2 separate regions of the Homo sapiens genome follow, and region 1 is linked to region 2. Evidence: promoter capture Hi-C in 16 types of primary human blood cells and fetal thymus (Javierre and others, 2016). All regions are on one chromosome and are shown on one strand. Each heading gives the region's core, a stretch centred on a gene start or on the middle of the fragment in contact. The rest is flanking DNA. Distances are from core to core; before and after follow the strand shown. Region 1 has its middle 160 kb from the start of ZNF618. Region 2 holds the start of AMBP (alpha-1-microglobulin/bikunin precursor).

Region 1 (3,989 bases), core at 286-2,785, 360 kb after region 2:
GCCAAAAGCTTCAGCAGGTACTTGGAGTGGAAGCCTGGTGGTAGGACACAGGTGATGTGCATGAGAACTGCCTGTTCCAGCTCCAGCTGCAGATGGAGGCGGGAGTGCCAGGAGGTGGCACAGACACTAATGGCATTTCCTAGAAGGGGCCAGGGAAGCTTTCCAGGAAGAGCAGCTCTGTGATAGCCTGAAAATGGAGAGAAATGAGCTGGATAGAGTAGGCAGGGGACAGACCCTGCAGGGTACATTAGTTGGCTCAGCCACACTAACAAAATATCTCAAATTGGGAAGCTTAAACAATAGAAATGCATTTTCTCACAGTTCTGGAGACTGGGAAGTCTAGGATCGAGGTTCCAACCAATTCAGATTTTAGTGAGGACTCTTCCTGGCTGATACATGGCCGCCTTCTCGCTGTGTCCTCACATGGCAGAGAGTGAACTCCCTGGTGTCTCCTCTTCCTCTTTTTAGGACACTGATCCCATCAGATCAGGACTCTACCCTTACAAGCTCATTAAACTTTTATTACTTCTTAAAGACCCTATATCCAAATAGTCACACTGGGGTTTGGACTTCAACATATAAGTTCTAGGGAGAGACACAATTCGGTCCACAGCACAGGACTTTGGACACTGTCCTTGGGGCAGGAGGGGAAGCAGTGAAGGATTTTAAGCCTAGAAACAGCACTGTGAAACTTGCTTTCAGTTGACGCCTCTGGTCATGGTGCAGAGAATGTTCAGAAGGGAGGGGAGAGTGAAAGCACAGATACTATAGAGGTCCAGGCCAGAGCTGATGGGCCCACAGTTGAGGCAGGGGAGAGGAGAACAGCAGCCAGATCTGAGAGCCATCAGAGGGCAGCTCAATGGGAGGCATCGATGACTGAACGTGGGCCGTGAGGGAGAGAGAAATCAGAGATATTGCCCAGTTTTCCAGCTTAAGCAGTTAGGTGTCTGGTGGTGTCATTGACAGAGACAGGGAATCCAAAAGGAGGAGATGAACAGCATGAGGTCAGTTTTGGACCTGGGGAAGAGAGGTCCTGCAAGATAGCTCTAGCATTATTTTGCCACCGCTTGGAGCCAAGCTGACATGCTTTCCTTCCTGTAAAATTTTCTGGCTTCAGTAGGTACTCAAGAAGTGTTTGTTGATTGAATAAATGACTGATTGTTGGCCCACATAGATCCATTGCTCACTTTGTTCTTTGTTCTTTTATTTCTTCTCTTTATCAATTTAAATCTTGCCCTTCCCATCAAGAGCCTCCTTCTCCAGGAGCCACCAACTCTATGGCCAATCTGTAGACCCCAGGACACAGGCCACAAGAAACCTTGTGGGAGGGGATTGGGGTAACATACATTTGGCTGCATCATCTGGAGACAGCCCCCAGGGTTCAGAACAGTTGTATCTTCTGCCCTGACATACATACAGGGACATTGGAGGGCCTCCAGGGCAGGGCCCAGGCTCAGAGGAAGCCTTCGTAGTGGAACTTGGTCAGTTGAGGAGCACAGAGCTCTCTGGCCCAGATTGTTTCCTGTCTGCTCACCCAAGTGAAGGACTCAGTGAAAGCAGCCATGAAGCCCAAAGGTACTGCCAAGGAGGCTAGAATGGAGCATGCACTTGCTTGTGGTATGGGTCAGTGTGGCAGATGTCAGTGGCCAGGAAGGAGCTAAGGAGGAGAAAACATTCCTCCTCTCTTCCAAGGCTAAGGAACAAGCAGTGATAGACATGCTGGGGAGGGCAGCTCTGGCGCTTTTCCAAGTGCTTGTTCGGGTGCATTGCCATGTTCTTGGGACAGTCATGTGCCTGCTGCACCCACTGGCTTGCTTTTCTCATTGTACCCAGTGCACTGTATATTCAAGTTTCACCTCCCTGCCTTCGCTTCTGCAGTACAATCATCCATAACACTCTCTCCAGTTCTCCCTCCCCATTACATCCTAGCCAACATGCAGAGCCTGAATCAAGGAGACACTCAATCCTTCTCAACGGGTTTTTTTTGTTTTTTTTTTTTGAGATGGAATCTTGCTCTGTCGCCCAGGCTAGAGTGCAGTGGCACGACCTCGGCTCACTGCAAGCTCCACCTCCTGGGTTCATGCCATTCCCCTGTCTCAGCCTCCCGAGTAGCTGACTACAGGCGCCCACGACCACGCCCAGCTAATTTTTTGTATTTTTAGTAAAGACAGGGTTTCACCATGTTAGCCAGGATGGTCTCGATCTCCCGACCTCGTGATCCACCCATCTCGGCCTCCCAAACTGCTGGGATCACAGGCGTGAGCCCCCGCACCCAGCATTTCAGCGGTTACTTTTCTGATTAAGTGACACTTCCCCCAGGAAGACTTCCCTGCATCTTCCAGCCCCTTCCACTCTCTCCCCACTGAGTACCTATAATCCTTCATCTGAGGCGGCCGGTAGAGTTTACAGGTTCAAAGCCCAGACTCTGAATTCAGCTGGTCTAGATTCAAAGTCTGATTCTACCACTTAACAGCAGCAAGAGTCTGGGCAAATTATTTAACATCTCTATGCTGCAGTTTTCTCACCTGTCAACTAGTGTTAATAATAGTTTCTACCCCACAGAGCCCTTGGAGGGATTAAGTGAAACAATAGCTGTGAAGTATTAGCTGTCTGTGTCCCTAAGCCCAGCTGCCAAACATGGCATCCCCTGTCCAACCAGTGAGAAGAATAGAAATCCATCACTTGGGGATCTTTGTTACAGGAAAACCGAAAACAAAGGTCCAAATCTTGGAGCTGAGTTATTGAACAGCTTAGACTAATTTGGAGCCCATCAAGCTTGGATTTGAATCCTGGCTCTGCCAGCCCTGTGAGCTTTTGCAAGTTATTCCATTGGTCTTAGCTTCAGTTTCTTCATCTGTAAAATGGGCATAATCATGCCCACTTTACAACATTCTAGAAGGGATAAAATGAGATGATGTTTGCATAGTGGAACTGTGGTGCATCAACAAACACCCTCCTTCATGTTGGAGGAGCTCATGCCCCAGAGTACTGTGAGAACAGGTAACATAACTCTCAATTCAGACACCCTGTCTTTGTCCATTTGTGCTGCTGTAACAAACTACCTCAGACTGGATAACCTAGAAAGAACAGGAATTTATTTCTCACAGTTCTGGAGACTGGGAAGTCCAAAATCAAGGTGCCAGTGGATTCCATGTCTGGTGAGGACTGCTCTCTGCTACCAAGATGGTACTTTGTAGCTGTGTCCTCGCATGGCAGAATACGAGTAAATGAATCCAATCCCTCAAGCCCTTTTATAAGGGTGTAATCCCATTTATGAGGGGATTAGTGATAGTGTGTTACATCAAGACCTAATCACCAATGTGACAGTATTAAGCGGTGGAGCCTTTAGGCAGTGATGAAGTCCTCGTGACTTAATCTAGTGCTGGCCCATGCAGGGAGATAATGGCCCAGCCTCCCTGCCTTAATTCAACTGGAACAAGAGCCAACCCAGCTTCCAAGCTCCCAGTGGAATCAACTGAGGCCTCTGCTGCAACCGCATTGCAGCCTGACTTTTCTCTGTGCCCCGACCTGTTTCCCTCACTCCCCTAAGATGCTGTTTCCAAGAACACTTGCCTACACATTATCTGCATGCACCTGTCTGGCTCAGAGTGGCAGTTACATTTTATGTGTCAACTTGGCCGCATTACCCAGATATTTAGTCAAACATCAATCTGAATGTTGCTGTGAAAGTATTTTTTAGATAAAATTCACATTTAAGTCAATAGACTTTAAGTAAAGCAGATTACCCTCTATAATGGGGGTGGGCCTTATTCAGTTAGTTGAAGCCCTTAAGGAAAAACAGACTGAGGGCCCCTGAAGAAGATGGAATTCTGCCTTCACCCTATCTTCAGACTCAAGCTGCAACATCATCACTTCCCTAGATCTCCAGCTTGCCAGTCTAACCTGTAGGTTTTGGACTTGCCAGCCTCCAGAATCGTGTGAGCTGATTTCTTATAAAAATTTTTTCTCTCTCACATACACGCATGCAC
Region 2 (3,998 bases), core at 829-3,328:
CAAGAAGGGAATATAATCACTGGCCAAGGTTAGGGTGACGGAGCAAAGGAAACACATTTATGAATAGAAGCACACTTGTTCTGGATACCAGTGAAAGAGGGATGTACTGACTGAATCTTACAGAAGGGACATGATACACCATTTGTTTCTGCACTGACTACATGGGGGAATCCTTTGATTCTCACATAAGCAGGGGTCTTAATCTTGGGACTGCCTGCCCGAAGGGGTCATTCCCAGCTCTAACAGAGAGGTGGCTGAGAGTATGGAATGTTCCATGCCAAGAGCAGGGAGGAAGTAAGGACAGTAGATTTAACCACTGGAGAAGGGAAATTCATAGAGAGGCCTTTGGTATTGCTGGCAAGAGTGTGAGCTCACAGACAACGGACCTGGGTTTTAAAAAATTCTCATTTAAAATCTTAAATTTAGGCTGAGCGCAGTGGCTTACGCCTGTAATCCCAGCACTTTGGGAGGCTGAGGTGAGAGGATCACCTGAGGTCAGGAGTTAGAGACCAGTCTGGCCAATATGGTGAAACGCTGTCTCTACTAAAAATACAAAAATTAGCCAGGCATGGTGGTGGGCACCTGTAATCTCAGCTACTCGGGAGGCTGAGGCACAAGAATCACTTCAGCCCAGAATGTGGAGGTTGCAGTGAGCCGAGATCGCACCACTGCACTCCAGCCTGGGCGACAAGAGTGAAACTCCGTCTCAAAATAATAAATAAATAAATAAAACCTTAAGTTTAATAACTACTGTATTAGTTTCCTAGGGCTGCTAGGAAATGTGTCTTCTCTCAGCACTGGAGGTCAGACACCTGAGACCAAATTTTCAGCAGAGCCATGTTCCCTTTGAAGATTCTGGGGAAAAGTCCTTCCTTGCCTTTTGCTAGCTTTTGGTGGCTGCCATCAATCCTTGGTGATTTTTGACGTGTCACTGCATCCCTCCCATCTCTGCCTTCGGCGTCACGCCACATCTTCCCCGTGCTTCTCTCTGTGTCCCTGTGTCTGAGTCTCCCTCACCATTCTCTTATAAAGATACCGGTCATTGGATTTAAAACCCCTGTCATCCAGTTCAACCTCATCTAACTAATCACATCTGCAAATCAGGTTCATTCTGCGGTTCGGGGTGCACATGGATTCTGGAGGGGGCACTGTTCAACCCACCACAAACACTCAGCTCTTACTCTATGCTGGGTACTGTCCTAGCGCATTGCAGGTGCTCACTCAACAATGCTAGGAGCTAGGAACTATTATTATCCCCATTTACAGATGAGGAAACCAAGGCACTGAAAGGTAAAGTGACTTGCCCAAGGTCACACAGCAGTGAGTGCCACTGTAGGCTGCCTGGCTCCCACGTCCATGGTCTCTACCACGCCTTTCCCAGCTACTCCACTCCCGGCTGAGGGATTCTGGGCAAGTCACTTCACTTCTTGGAGACTCAACTCCTCTGCCTGTAAAGGGGACAAATAGCACCTACTTCGTAAGCTTGTTGTGGGGATTTACTGGACACCTGTGGCACGTGTAAAGTGCCTGGTACACAGCCAGCACATAGCAGGTGCTCAGTGAACGGAAGCTCGTAACAGTCATCATTGTTAATGTCTCTATTATTTGCAAAGGCTAGGGCAAGCCTGGGGGCTGGAGAAGGAACTCTGGAGACAGGATACCTGGGTTCTGGTCTTGGCTCTGCCCATAGACTTCCCTGAGGTCTCTGGCAAGTCACTTCCTCTCCTTGGGCCTCAGTTTTTTCCTGTGAGAAATGGGCCCAATCAGGCTTGACCTGCTGGCTCACAGAGCTGTGAGGTCCAGATGGCATGACTCAGCAGAAAGGCCAGGTCGCTCCCCATCCTCGCATGCCCTCTGTGGGGGACTTTTGGGGGGCGGAGCCCAATCCTGGTGCTCCAGGGCCCTATTGTGCTTGGCCAATGCCTCTTCTGAAGCAGCCATCCCGGCCTCTTGGTACTGCTGACCCCAGCCAGGCTACAGGGATCGATTGGAGCTGTCCTTGGGGCTGTAATTGGCCCCAGCTGAGCAGGGCAAACACTGAGGTCAACTACAAGCCACAGGCCCCTTCCCCAGCCTCAGTTCACAGCTGCCCTGTTGCAGGGAGGCGGTGGCCCTTCTGTTGCTAGACCGAGCCTGTGGGATATACCAAGGCAGAGGAGCCCATAGCCATGAGGAGCCTCGGGGCCCTGCTCTTGCTGCTGAGCGCCTGCCTGGCGGTGAGCGCTGGCCCTGTGCCAACGCCGCCCGACAACATCCAAGTGCAGGAAAACTTCAATATCTCTCGGGTAAGGCTGCCGCTCTCTGTGGTAGGGTGGATGTGGTGATGGGGAGTCCAGGCAGATGGGCCCTGCTGGGCAAGTGCGGCCTGTCTCGGGGTCTCAGGCTTCCACTCAGATCATCTGGGATTATGGGATCCTTTGAAGGTACAGCTCTATCCCCTGCCATTCCGTGGGTCTCTTGGCTGACATTCTATGAGTCAAACATCCTCACCTTCTGCACTGTCCTCGTGGGCTCCAAGGGGAACCCTTGTGTTAATGGGAACCTGCTCCAGAGAAGGCTTTGTCCTGCCTGCCACTGCCCTGCAGCCCCCGTGCAGACACCTAGCTTTGCCCAGACCTCCCAGCCCTTCCTTCTCTAATGACTCCCCTCTCTCTGTGGCATCTTTCCCTTAGCTCTTCCTGTGTCCCCTGCCCACATCCTGGCCTGACTGTGGACAGACACCTGGGGTGGCACAGCGTGGGCATGTGGCCAGCAGCTTTTGGGTTGGGCATGTGGGGCTTATGGGAAGAGGTGAAGCAGGACAGAGATTAGGGTTGGGAGACATTCAGAGGCTTGGGCACAAGGAGAGACCTGGACTGGGGCAGGACACTCTCCTGTGAGTGTGGAGTGCCAGAGCTGCCTTCCAGCCCCCACTCTGCCCTAAATCCCGGGGTGGCTTTGAGAATACCCTTGCCCACCTGGGGCTGTCTCCATGTCTGTATGAAGGGTCTCAGAACCTTCTAGCTGTGGTGTCATGTGGGTTTTGTTTACTTTTAGGGACAAGGAAAGGTCGTGGCAGAGGGGCAATGAGGAGCAGGTCCCTGTGGCAGTCTGGGACGCAAAGGGTGTGGGGCACATTGGCCTGTTCCGTAGGAGCCTGAGGGCTCCTTCAGCTGTCCCGTGCACTTTCAGGAGGAAGAGGAAGCAGGCCTATCCTGAATGACCCCATCATGTTCATTATACTTTTGAAATAATTCCTAACATGGGGCTGTGGGCTGCCTTGCAAGGTGGGGAGCACCCCATCATTGGAGGAGTAAAAGACAGGACTCCAGCTCTTGGGGAGCAGTGGTTGATGGAGCTATGGACAGATCCCACATCTTGAGAGAGTTAGCCCTTCTGCAGGGCAGGTTGGGACCCCAGCCGCACACCTGCTTCCTGGGTTCGCTGTGATGCCTGAAACGCCACTCTTAGGGATCTGGCCTCCCTTGAAGGTGTGTGGCCTCTGATTAGTTGTAAGACATTATCCCTTAAAAGGATAAGTCATTTTGAGGAGAAGGAGGAGGAAGAGGAGGAGGTGGAGGGTGGGGAGCAGATGTCAGCCAGGTCTGCTTTGAGGTCTGAGACTGATGCAGACCCCCAGAGCTCACCTGCCTCCTAGATCTATGGGAAGTGGTACAACCTGGCCATCGGTTCCACCTGCCCCTGGCTGAAGAAGATCATGGACAGGATGACAGTGAGCACGCTGGTGCTGGGAGAGGGCGCTACAGAGGCGGAGATCAGCATGACCAGCACTCGTTGGCGGTGAGCACTAGGGTGGGGCTGGAAAGCTGAGAGAGACCCAGAGACCCACAACCTTCCCAGCCCCGTCCATCCTGGGAAGTTGCAGATCTCTGCTTCCAGTCAGGACCTTCCCGCTGAACCCCAGATCCCTCTACGCTCCTCCACCAGGACGGCCCTTTTCAGGTGTCCTATCTATTCCTCGAGGGCAGTGTCCCAGCACTGTGCCTGTTCTGCAAACT

Evidence for each region. Contacts are between HindIII fragments. The CHiCAGO score rates a contact against its expected background, and 5 or more counts as called.
Region 1: a fragment that was not itself captured here is called in contact with the fragment with the promoter of AMBP in region 2 in 1 of 17 cell types (endothelial precursors); the score reaches 5.1 in endothelial precursors.

The regions. Positions count from the first base shown.
Region 1 is chr9:113,716,186-113,720,174 of GRCh38, reverse strand. No RefSeq gene overlaps it. Among named protein-coding and RNA genes, the nearest start is that of ZNF618, 160 kb to the left of the region's middle. The HindIII fragment of the contact is 2,484 bases long and covers 294-2,777 here.
Region 2 is chr9:114,076,380-114,080,377 of GRCh38, reverse strand. AMBP (alpha-1-microglobulin/bikunin precursor) reads left to right here and starts at 2,078. Exons shown (of 10, transcript NM_001633.4): 1 at 2,078-2,285; 2 at 3,638-3,780. The coding sequence starts at 2,169. LOC107987120 (a long non-coding RNA gene) reads left to right here. Exons shown (of 3, transcript XR_001746905.1): 3 at 1-438. The HindIII fragment of the contact is 5,279 bases long and covers 1,485-3,998 here.